2 separate regions of the Homo sapiens genome follow, and region 2 is linked to region 1. Evidence: promoter capture Hi-C in human tissues and cell types (Jung and others, 2019). All regions are on one chromosome and are shown on one strand. Each heading gives the region's core, a stretch centred on a gene start or on the middle of the fragment in contact. The rest is flanking DNA. Distances are from core to core; before and after follow the strand shown.

What was found. The method cuts DNA at HindIII sites, captures the fragments that hold promoters and counts their contacts. A contact is called where the count stands out against the background at its distance.
Region 2: a fragment that was not itself captured here is called in contact with the fragment with the promoter of PGPEP1L in region 1 in 4 of the 25 tissues and cell types used here (dorsolateral prefrontal cortex, hippocampus, mesenchymal stem cells and 1 more).

The regions. Positions count from the first base shown.
Region 1 is chr15:99,004,870-99,011,366 of GRCh38, forward strand. It overlaps PGPEP1L (pyroglutamyl-peptidase I like), which reads right to left and starts at 2,923. Exons shown (of 5, transcript NM_001167902.2): 1 at 2,490-2,923; 2 at 560-787. The HindIII fragment of the contact is 12,693 bases long and covers 1-6,497 here.
Region 2 is chr15:98,452,136-98,458,632 of GRCh38, forward strand. It overlaps the pseudogene FAM169BP. Among named protein-coding and RNA genes, the nearest start is that of LINC02351, 34 kb to the left of the region's middle. The HindIII fragment of the contact is 3,340 bases long and covers 2,389-5,728 here.

The sequences.
Region 1 (6,497 bases), core at 1,673-4,172:
CTTCTGGGGCTCAGGGTCTCCAGCTAGTGGCTCTCGGGGGGTGCTTCACAGCTCCCTGAAAAATGGAAGTTCTTACTCTGGAAGTGGGGACTGTGTGTTCCTTTGCGGGTGGCTGTTGTAGATGGGTTTGCAAGCCTTGTGAGGGCCCTGTGGTTTCTGGGCGTATAGATCCCTCTTCCTTGCTATGAGCCTGCACCCCCAAGGGATACCTCACGTGCCTCGGGCCCCACTCAGGGAAAACAGGTACCAGCCTCAGCTTCCTCCCTGCTGGGTTGAAAGGCAAGGTCTGAGCCTAAGCCACCAGTGGCACCTTCGTGCCCGCCACTCGAGAGTTACTTGAAGCGAATGAGCCACAGAAGCAGAAATGCCTGTGATCCTGATTGTTTATTAATAGGGCACAGCAGCAAGTTCGTTTCCATCTGGAATTATTAGCACCACCAGTTGCCATTCTTTTTTTCCCTCAGGGAACTATTTAAGACCCAGGATCAGGCCAGTGCGCATTCCAGGGGCAGGCTAAAAGCAGCAACAAATAGGAGAGAAAAAAATTATGTAGTCTTACCAGTCACCACCACGCAGCTGGGCTGGGAATCCATGAAGACGAAGTGGGAGCTCGCGCTGCGCCTCCCTGGCTCAGGCAGCGGCCCAGCGGCCGGGCTCTGCGCGCTCTGAGCTCCGGGCACCTTCTCTGCCTGGCCGCGTGCTCGCCGGGGACCGGGGTGGAGCGGGAGCCCAACCCCTCCTGGCCGCCCGGCGTCCGTAGCGTTCTGGGCCCCGAAAGGCCAAGGATCTAGGGGAGGGTGATAAAGCAATGCCCCTTGAAAGCAGAACGATCCAGCTCAGGACAGCGGGTTGGAGCGCCAGCAGGGACTTTCTGGACATTTGAGTCTGGGTCACTTTGTTGTTCAGGATGGTTCAAAGGTGAGCTAAGGGTTTGGCTACCAGCTGTCCCGGTTTGCCTGGGACAGAAGGATGTCTGGGACGGAACACCACATGGTGCTCAAAGAGGTACTGTCCTAGGAACTGTGGGCTACCCTACAAGTCGTTTACTTAGATCTTATTTTTTCCTCTTTAGTAATCCCTGCCAGAGCCCCTCATTGTGTTTGGCCATTATGATTTGGTAAAATTTGATTGCTCTGAAAACTAATTCCACAAAATATGTGAGATGTGAGCAGAAAAAAAAGAGAGAAAACCATAGATGAATCTTATGGCGCCTGCCTTTAAAATATTGATTGCAAGCACCGCTGCCTAGGAGCTGTGGGTCCTCAGGGAAGTTAACCTCTGTGCTCAGGTTTCCTGTTTTGAGAAACGAGGATCGCAGCACCGGATCCTGTATGGATTCTTTCTGTGCCCCAGGCACTGTCCCCAGCTTCATCAGCCCTGAGGAACAGAGGCTTGCCACCTAGCTAGCGTCTGTGCAAGCTTGCTAGCTCTGTGCTCACCACCCTGCGTTCTACCTGCGAAAAGTGCTTTCTTGACACTGTGCTGGACTCCTTAAACATGCCACTGACAGTGAGCCACAGCCGTGGCATGCCACCTGGCTCTGCAGACAGTCCTCTTTTTAATGTGTCAGAATAACTGAAAAAGGCTAACATTTGAGGCTATTTCCTCTATCGAAAAAGCTGTTTTCCAATATCTTGATCTTTCGGAGAATTCTATTTAAAAACAAAACAAACTTTTGGCCAGGTGCACTGGCTCACGCCTTTAATTTCAGCATTTTGAGAGGCCAAGGTAGGAGGATAGCCTGAGGCCAGGAGTTCAAGATCAACCTGGGCAACGTGGCAAGACTGCATCAATTATTTTTTTCAAAACGTGGTATATGCCCATAGTCCTGGCTTCTCAGGGAGGCTGAAGCGGGAGGATCACTTGAGCCGTCAGTCGTAACTGCACCTCTGCACTCCACCCTGGGTGACAGAGTGAGACCCTGTCTCTAAAAATATTCTTAAACTTTTTTTTAAACTGAAAATACTTTTTTCCTGAAGCTGTATATTAAGAGGAAGAAGACCCATGATTCTCTGTCCCCATCTAGGTCTGGGGAGGAGAAGCTCCCTTCAGGGAAGCAGGCAGAGCCTCTCAAGCACCCTGCGGCCTCTAGAGAGCTCAGTGTGACAGCAGGACCACGTGGCTCCATCTGCTGAATTGTCCTCCTGATATAAAGCGCTCCCTTTTAATTGGGATCACCCCCGCGGATTAGACCCCCCTTGGTGGCTTTCTGGGATTCTGAACCAGGAACAATTCCCTTTAATTAGCTCCTGGTGTGGGCTGCAGGCCTCTTCACTGCCAACAGGTGGGAAGCGCCATTTGCTCCCACTAGTCTCCCACTCCCTGTCCTGAGAAGCTGGGCCCACCTTGCCATGAGTGGGATGCAGAGGATTTTTGTACTTTGCCTCATTTCACAGAAGTTACCCGGTTTCTCAATATACCCCGGATGCACTTGTAGACTTGGTCTCTACCTCCTCTGGTGAGCAGCTCTCCTAGCTCCTATCACTTACCTAGTTCCGTCATGGTGTGTCCAGAATCGGCGGATTCTTGGTCTCACTGACTTCAAGAACGAAGCCGCGGACCCTGGCGGTGAGTGTTACAGTTTTTAAAGGCAGCGTGTCCCAAGTTTGTTTCTTCTGATGCTCGCATGTGTTCGGAGTTTCTTCCTTCTGGCAGATTCGTGATCTCGCTGACTTCAGGAGTGAAGCTACGGACCTTCATCATGAGTGCTACGGCTCTTAAGGTGGCGTGTTTGGAGTTATTCGTTTCTCCCGGTGGGTCCGTGATGTGGCTGGCTTTAAGAACGAAGCTGCAGACCTTCACGGTGAGCGTTACAGCTCATAAAGGCAGTGCGGACCCAAACAGTAAGCAGCAGCAACGGTTATTGCAAACAAGCAAAACAACAAAACTTCCACAGCACAGAAGGCGACTCCAGCAAGTTGCTACTGCTACCTGGGGCAGCCTGCTTTTATTCTCTTATCTGGCCCCACCCACATCCTGCTGATTGGTCCATTTTACAGAGAGCCGATTGGTCTGTTTTACAGAGAGCTGATTGGTCCGTTTTGACAGGGTGCTGATGGGTGCGTTTACAATCCTGGAGCTGGACACAAAAGTTCTCCACGTCCCCACTAGATTAGCTAGATACAGAGTGTGGACACAAAGGTTCTCCAAGTCCCCACCAGAGTAGCTAGATACAGAGCGTCGATTGGTGCATTCACAAACCCTGAGCTAGACACAGGGTGCTGATTGGTGTGTTTACAAACCTTGAGCTAGATACAGAGTGCCCATTGGTGTATTTACAATCCCTTAGTTAAACATAAAGGTTCTCCAAGTCCCTTCCAGACTCAGAAGCCCAGCTGGCTTCACCCAGTGGATCCCGCACCAGGGCCGCAGGTGGAGCTGCCTGCCAGTCCTGTGCAGTGCGCCTGCACTCCTCAGCCGTTGGGTGGTCGATGGGACTGGGTCCTGTGGAGCAGGGGGCGGCACTCGTGGGGGAGGCTCAGGCCGCGCAGGAGCCCATGACGCGGGGGAGGAGGCTCAGGTATGGCGGGCTGCAGGTCCCGAGCCATGCCCCGCACGGAGGCAGCTAAGGCCCCGCGAGAAGTCGAGCACTAACAGCTGCTGGCCCAGGTGCTAAGCCCCTCACTGCCCGTGGCCGGCGGGGCGGGCTGGCTGCTTGGAGTGCGGGGCCCGCCGAGCCCACGCCCACCCGGAACTCGCACTGGCGCGCAAGCGCGGCGTGCAGCCCCGGTTCCCGCCCGCGTCTCTCCCTCCACACCTCCCCGCAAGCTGAGGGAGCCGGCTCTGGCTTTGGCCAGCCCAGGAAGGGGCTCCCACAGTGCAGCGGCGGGCTGAAGGGCTCCTCAAGTGCCGTTAAAGTGGGAGCCCAGGCAGAGGAGCCGAGAGTGAGTGACGGCTGCGAGGCCTACCAGCATGTTGTCACCTCTCAGTGGGGGCTTGGCTTCCTCTGCACAGTTAAAGGAAGAGATTGGACCATTAAGAAATGCCCACTTCTTCTTTTTTTTTTTTTTTCAGATGTAGTCTCGCTCTGTTGCCCAGGCTGGAGTGCAGTGGCGCGATCTCGGCTCACTGCAGCCTCCGCCTCCCAGGTTCAAGCAGTTCTCTCCCTCAGCCTCCGGAGTAGCTGGGATTACAGGCACCTGCCACCAGCCCTGGCTATTTTTTGTATTTTTAGTAGAGACAGAGTTTGACCATCTTGGCCAGGCTGGTCTTGAACTCCTGACCTCGTGATCCACCTGCCTCGGCCTCCCAAAGTGCTGTGATTACAGGCGTGAGCCACCGCGCCCGTCCAGAAATGCCCACATTTGTAAAGTTGGTTGCTGCTAGGGTCCAACTCTGCTATCAACATTCACCTATGAGGTCTGGGAATGGGAACTTGTGTTTAAGGAGACTCCTTAAGTGCAAAGACTGCCCATCTTTAACCATACTACTTTTCTGATAACAAAGCTGAAATTTTCATCATTTTTTTTTTGATTTGACAGGAGCTATTATTTTAACTAAACTGGAATGTGTCCTGCAGTTTTCACTTTCCCATAATTCACTTATTTTTTTCTGTTCTAAAGTTTTCTCTAATTTTGAAATTAATAGAAAAAACAACACAAAATATTTTACTTAGTCACAGTGATATGTCTATTTTTGTATTCATTCACCTCCCCTCTCCCCACACAAGAACCCCCCAGCACATTCCTACTTTCTGGAATGAAAATAGCTCTGAGAAGTATGGATTTTGAGGTTCAACATCTGCACTTTTATTTCTTTTTCCATTGTAAAAACAAATGGTCTCTAATAATTGATGTCAAACACAGTCTTTAGGCTGATGAAATACAGTAAGCCTGAGAACGAATAAGGCAACTAAATGGAGCTGTTTTATTTAACAGAGAGCACAGTGATCTTCCTTACAAGCGGGATTCCCGAGAGGAAAATGTTTGTAATCAGATTTGACTCTAGGATTAAGAGGGCAAGGTGCGACCCTCTTAGTGAACCGGAAAGTAAGCAACGGTACACAAGTGTTCTCACCAGGGACAGCAAATGGGAGTTGCCAAGATTACAAGATCCCAAGACCTCAACTATTTCACGTGCTGAACTAAACTCAAAACTTTGTGGGATTTGTTTTAAATTTCTCATTGGCAAGTGGTGACTTCCTGCTCTCGCAAGAAAAAAGATTAAAGGGGTTTGTTTACTGTCTCTGACACAAACAGCTCTTACAACACATTTTGTACACTTGACATAAATGAAATTTAATCAAACTGGTCAAATTCCTTTGGGAGGTGGGGAGAAAATAAATCAATCAGCAAGAAGCACTTGTGATTTCCAAAATAATGATAACATAAGTCTTTCTCCATGTCAAACATCACTGTTTCCAGATAAGCGACTTAGCTCTACTATAAAACACAACCCATAGCCAAATTGCTTCTTGTCAAAGCACTAAGGGATCCTCCAATAATGTCACTCTACCAAGGCAGATTCAGAACTCACCCTCCTCTATACCTCTGCCTCTGCAGCTTTGTACCCCAGCAGGGGCCAGCCAGCACACGATTTCTGAAAAGGGCCATAAAATAAATGAATAAATGTAGTAGACTTTTTTTTTTTTTTTTTTGAGACAGGGTCTCACTCTGTGGCCCAAGCTGGAGTGCAGTGGTGCAATCTCGGTTCACTGCAACCTCCGCCTCCCGGTTCAAGCAATTCTCGTGCCTCAGCCTCCTGAGTAGCTGGGATTACAGGTGTGCACCACCACACCCGGCTAATTTTAGTAGTGCCTGTAGTCGCAGCTAATCGGGAGGCTGAGGGAGGAGAATGGCGTGAACCTGGGAGGCAGAGCTTGCAGTGAGCCGAAATCGCATGCTGCACTCCAGCCTGGGCGACAGAGTGAGACTCTGTCGCAAGGTGATATTTCTGTTACATTTTGTAGGAGAAGGATTTGTCTTTATTTTTCTTCTGTCTTATATTTTTCCCTCAGACTTTTGCTAAGCCTTGATCACTTTTTTTTTTAGGGACTACAGCTCCTTGACTGCAAAGTAACAACTGTTGCAAAAGGAAGTTTTCTACTTGTTAAAATCCAGTAGCTTGTTACCCCTATTGTTTAAATACTGGATTTTTCTTTCAAATTTCACAAATATCTTAGGAATGACTGGAACATTTGTGTTCTTAACACTGAGGAAATTCCTGTGTAGACAAATGAGGCCAGATGGAGGGTGCAGCAGAGAGCTTAATATCCTCTTGGAATGGAAGAGGGGCCACACTAAAACATGCACCAGGCCTTCGAGGGGCCGCTATTTTCCAGTATACACATGTAAGAGGCATTTTTCTTTTTTTCTTGACTGGGGCCAAAGGTAACTTTCGTGTCAGAAGTGAGTGCTAAGTGGCTGAGTAGGTTTGAGGAAGGCTTAGCGATCCAGCTTATTTATAGACAATCCGATTATAATATTTATGATCATTGATTTTTAAAAATTACTGGACCTCTTAAAAATGGTTAGATATGAGACTGGTATATACTGAAG
Region 2 (6,497 bases), core at 2,809-5,308, 550 kb before region 1:
AAACAAGTGATGCTAACATAGCAGATCATTCTCCAGTTGACTGATCAGCTTTCTTTACAAACTCACATGATACAAGACCACTGGACTGAAATGAAAGGTGAACCTGGGAGACTAGGCAGAGTGAGGCCACTCAGGCAGCATCCTCCTCAGATTCCTCCCTTCACTGCACACTGTTCAATGAGACCCTTGGAGCCAACCAGGAGTATCTGGCAACATCAACTATCTCCCTGCAGAAGTGAAACCTGAAGAGACCAATTCGACCCATCTCTAGGGTACGCACTTGTTTCAGTAACTCTAGCAAGGGCTCACCGTGTCCAATTATAGCAAAATGCACTTACCCCATATAGACACACCACCAGGCCCTGCTTCTCATGAAATATTGATGGCCCTGCTGCAGCAGAGCCAGAGAGGTGACAATTGGCACCCTCCCCACTTTTCACCCACAACTTAACTGTATCGCAACCAAAGTCAACACCAGCACAGTTGCCATTTCTGCAATGAGAACGTGGCCTTTCAGCCAGGCACCTCTGTCATCACCCTAACTAGAACACCAGTTCTACACTGGGCCTACTAGCTCACCTTCCTCACCTCCAAACTGCACAGATGCCCATGACCTAGATGCAATGGAAGAAGAAAACAAATATGGAGCATTTTCAGCTTCTGTTGGAAGTGGTGGTATTTGTCCCTGCCAAGATTCAGAAGTGGGTAATTTCCCAAACAAACAAAAATGACTCCGATTCTAATCAGCCAGACTGAAATGCAAAGATACACACTGCCATGGTGAACTGTTTGCAAAAATGGCCACGATTACTTCTTTCCTATGGCCATGCCCCTTTGCATCTGATTTTGAAGCTCCTCCCATCAAGAGATGGGATCAATTTCCCCTCACCTCTAATTCCAGCTGGCCTTGTGACTCACTTTGGTCAACAGAATGAGGCAGAGTGACAGCACCACCACTCTAAGCCTAGGCCTCCTGGGGTCCAGTGTACCTGTGTTCTCTCTCAGATCCCTGCAACACACCACAAAAGCAAGCCCAGGGTGACCTGCTACCATGAAAGGAATATGGCCCACGCACTGCTGCGGTCCCAGGGAATGTCTCGCCAGCCCCAAGCAGCAGAGCCACCTGACAGGCAGGTTACCATGGATAAACAGCAAGCCCAGCTAGACTAGAAAATCACCCAGCTGAGCTCAGCCTAAAATGCCAAGCAAAAGAATTGTTAGCTAAATAAGCAGTTACTATTTCATACCAAAAATGAATTTAAAAATAAATAATCTACAGCCAATAAGGAAGTTCATTTCTCTTGAGACAGTAACTATAAAATATTTGGGATTTCAAGCTTGATGCGCTTGAGATGACAGTACCAACTTGCTTGCAATTATATTATTTCAATATATAGAAGATGAGAGCAATGTTCTTGTAATTGTGAAGTCTTCCAAAACTAAAAGGCTTTAATATTAAATAAAGATGCAATTTAATTTACAATAGCATTAAAAAGAAGTAAATAATTAAGAGTATGTTTAACAAAAGAATCTTGAACACCAAAAACTACAAGACATTGTTGAGAGAAATTAAAGAAGAGCTAAATAAATGAAGAGAAATTCCATGTGCATGGATTGGATGACTCAATTCTTACAATAATTCTTCCCAAAATGATCTGTAAACTCAATGCTGGCTCTATCAAAATCCTCTTTGTAATTCTACAACTAAGCATATGAAAGGATGCTCCACATCATATGCTATTAGGAAATCACAAATTTAAACAATGAGATGCCACTACACACCTATTAGAATAGCCAAATTATTTTTTTTTTGAGACAGAGTTTCGCTCTTATTGCCCAGGCTGGAATGCAATGGCGCGATCTCAGCTCACTGCAACCTCCGCCTCCTGGGTTCAAGCGATTCTCCTGCCTCAGCCTCCCAAGTAGCTGGGATTACAGGCATGTGCCACCATGCCCAACTAATTTTTGTATTTTTAGTAAAGACAGGGTTTCGCCATGTTGGTCAGGCTGGTCTCGAACTCCTGACCTCAGGTGATCCGCCTGCCTCGGCCTCCCAAAGTGCTGGGATTACAGGTGTGAGCCACCACACCTGGCCTAGAATAGCCAAATTCTTTAACACAGACAACAACAAATGCTGGTGAGGATGTGGAACAACAGGAACTGTCATTCATTGCTTGTCAGAATACAAAATGGTGCAGCCACTTTGGAAGGCATTTTGGCAGTTTCTTACAGAACTAAACATACTCTTACCTTGTGATTCAGCAGTCACACTCCTTGATATTTACTCAACGGAGTTGAAAACGATGTTCACACAAAAATCTGCACACAAATATTTATTCATAATTACTAGAACTTAGAAGCAATCAGGATGTACTTCGGACGGTGAGTGGATAAACTGTGGCTTATCCAGTCAATGTAACATTATTCTGCACTAAAAAGAAATGAGTTATTACTATAAAAAGATATAGAAAAACCATAAGGGCATATTACTAAGTGAAAGAAGCTAACTGAACAATGACATTCCATTGGATTCCAACTACAGTAATGTGCTTCATAAAGACGTTTCAGTCAACAATGGACCACATGTGCAATGGAGATCCCATAAGATTAAAATACAGCTGAAAAATTCCTGTCGCCTAGTGATAGTCATAGGCATCATAAAGTCGTAATGCAACACGCTATTCATGTGTTTGTGGTGATGCTGGGGTAAACACACCTACCACACTGCCAGTCATATAAAAGTCTAGCACATACAGGCGGGCATGGTGGCTCATGCCTGTAATCCCAGCACTTTGGGAAGCCGAGGTGGGAGGATCACTTGAGGTCAGGAGTTTGAGACCAGCCTGGCTAACATAGTGAAACCCCATCTCTACCAAAAATATAAAAAAAATTAGCCAGGTGTGGTGGCATGCACCTGTAATCCCAGCTACTCAGGAGGCTGAGGCAGGAGAATTGCTTGAACCCAGGGGGCAGAGATTGCAGTGAGCCGAGATTGCACCACTGCACTCCAGCCTGGGCAAGAGAACAAGCCTCTGCCAAAAAAAAAAAAAAAGTCTAGCACATACAATTATGCACAGTACCTAATACCCAATAATGATAATAAATGACTGATACTGGTTTATGTATTTACTATACTATATTTGTATTGTCATTTTAGAGCGTACACCTTCTACTCATTATAAAAACAAAATTAACTGTAAAGCAGCCTCAGGCAGGTCCTCTAGGAGGTATTCCAGAAGAAGGCAGTTATCCTAGGAAATGATAGCTCCACGCATGTTACTGCCCCTGGAGACCTTCCAGTGGGACAAGATGTGGAAGTGGAAGACAGTGATATTGACAATCCTCACCCTGAGTAGGCCTAGGCTAAGGAGTGTGTTTGTCTCTTTGCTTTCAGCAAGAAATATTTTTAAACTTAAAAAAAAATTTTTTTTAATTAAAGCTTATAGAATAAGAAAATATTTATGTGCAGCTGCATAATGTATTTATGTTTTAGCCAAGTGTTATTACAAAAGAGTCAAAAAGTTAAAAAAATCAAAAAGTTTTTGTAAAGTAAAAAGGTTACAGTAAGCTACAGTTCATTTATTATTGAAGGAAAAAGTAGACATTTAGTGTAACCTACGTGTACAGTGTTTCTAAAGTGCACAGTAGTGCACAGTACTGTCCTAGGCCTTCACATTCACTCACCACTCACTCACTCCCTGAATCACCCAGAGAAACTTCCAGTCCTGCAGCTCCACTCACGGTAAGTACTCTACACGAGCATACTGTTTTTAAATCTCTTTACTGTACCTTTTCTATATTTACATATGTTTAGATACAGAAATACCATTATGTTACAATTGCCTCCAGTAATGAGTACAGTAACGAGCTATACAGGTTTGTAGCCTAGAGATGACAGGCCATACTCCACAGCCTAGGAGTGCAGCAGGCTCTGCCATCAAGTCTTATGTGAATACATTCTATCATGTTCACACAATGATGCAATTGCCTAACAATGCATTCCTCAAAACATATCCCTGTGGCTAAGTGACAAATGACTGTATATTACATTCTGGAAAAGGCAAAACTAGGGAGGCATGGTGACCGGGCGCGGTGGCTCACACCTGTAATTCGAGCACTTTGGAAGGCCAAGGTGGGTGGATCACCTGAGGTCAGGAGTTCAAGACCAGCCTGGTCAACATGGCGAAACCCCATCTCTACTAAAAATACAAAAACTGAGCCAGGCATGGTGGCTCATGCCTGTAATCCCAGCTACTTGGGAGGCTGAGACACGAGAACTGCTTGAATTGGGGAGGTGGAGGTTGCAGTGAGCCAACATCACACCACTGCATTCCAGCCTGTGTGACAAGAGTGAGACCCCGTCTCAAAAAAAAAGATCTGTGGTTACCAGGGCCAGGAGTAAGAAGGATGAGTAGACAGAGTACAGAGGAATTTTAGGCAGTGAAACTACCCTGTGTGATATTACAACAGTGGACACATGCCATTAAACATTTGTCACAACCCATAGAAGTTACAACATGGAGTAAGCTCTCATGTAAACTATGAACTTCAGTTAATGATAATCTATTCTTATAGGCTGAACCTTGTGTCTCCCACATTCGCAAACCCACAGTACCTCAGAAGATACTTTCTTTGCAGCTGGTTGGAGATAAGGCCTTTAAAAGAGGTCATGAAGCTAAAAAGGAGGCATTAGGATATGCACCACTCCAACCTTCTTACAGGGACTAGTGTCCCTATAAGAAGAAATCTGGACACACAGAAAGATACCAGCAATACTCAAGTAGAGAAAAGACCAAGTATGGACATAGTGAGAAGGCAGCCATCTGCAAGCCAAGAAGAAGCCTCTAAAGAAAACAAGCTTTCTGACACCTTGACCTTGAACTTCTGGCCTCCATAACTGTGAGAAAATTAATTTCTGTTGTTTAAGTCAGTAGTCTCCAACATTTTTGGCACCAGGAACCAGTTTCATGGAAGACAATTTTCCCATGGACCAGGAAACGGAGGGGATGGTTTCAGGATGATTCAAGTGCATTACATTTATTGTGCACTTTATTTATATTATTATGGTGTAATATATAATGAAATAATTATTATACAACTCACTATAATGTAGAATCAGTGGGAGCCCTGAGCTTGTTTTCTTGCAACTAGATGGTCCCATCTGGGGGTGATGGGAGACAGTGACAGATCATCAGGCATTAGATTCTCATAAGGAGCACGCAACCTAGACCCCTCGCATGTGAAGTTCACAGTAGGGTCCGCACTCTTACGAGAATCTGATGCTGCCACTGATCTGACAGGAGGCAAAGGTCAGGTGGTAACATGAGCAATGGGAGTGACCGTAAATACAGATGAAACTTTGCTCACTCGCCCACCCCTCACCTCCTGCTGTGCAGCCCAGCTCCTAACAGGCCACAGACTGGTACCAGTCCATGGCCCGGGGACTGGGGACCCCTAGTTTAAGCCACCCAGTCTGTGGTATTTTGTTATGGAAGCCCTAGAAAACTAGTGTATATGTCAATATTGGTTCATCAATTGTAACAAACGTACCTCACTAGCGCAATATGTTAACAATAGGGGAAATGATTGGGGGAGAGGATACATTGGAACTCTGTACTTGCCCCTCAATTTTTCTATAAAACTAAAAACTATTCTAAAAATAAAGCTTATTCATATTTTTTAATGTATCAGGTATTTTATAAAGTGAGGTTGGACCTTTACTTTACATCATACATAAAAAAATAATTCAAAATGGATCATAGACATGAATGTAAGAGCTAAAACTATAAAGCTTTTAGAAAAAGTAAAAATCTCCCCAACCTTGGGTTAGGCAAAGAGTTCTTAGATTCAACACCCAGAACACAATCAATTGACAAACCTAACTTCATCAATGTTTTAAATGTTTTGTTTCAAAAGGCACGACTGGGGAACATGGCGGACGGGAGGCAGGACTAGATTGCAGCTCTGACTGGGACAGACAGAGCAGTGTGTGGAGGCTCGCATTGTAAATTTTTGCTCCAGAACAACTGCAGGAATAAATCAGGAAACCTGAGAGGACCCACAGACTCCCTGAAGGAAGCAGATTGCTCCTGCAGGACCCAGGAGACACCCCAAATACTGTGCTGGTATCCATGACTGAGAGTCCCACAGACGGTTCACATCACAGGACTCTGTGCAGACAACCCCCAGTACCAGCTGGAGCCTGGTAGACTTGCTGGCTGGCTAGACCCAGAAGAGAAATAACAATCACTACAGCTTGGCTCTCAGGAAGCCACATCCACAGGAATAGGGGGAAAGCACTACATCAAGGGAACACCCCATGGGACAAAAGAAGCCTTCAGCCCTAGCCCTTCCCTCTGACAGAGCCTACTCAAATGAGAAGGAACCAGAAAACCAACTCTGGTAATATGACAAAACAAGGTTCTTTAACATCTCCAAAAAATCACAGTAGCTCACCAGCAACGGACCCAAACAAAGAAGAAATACCTGATTTACCT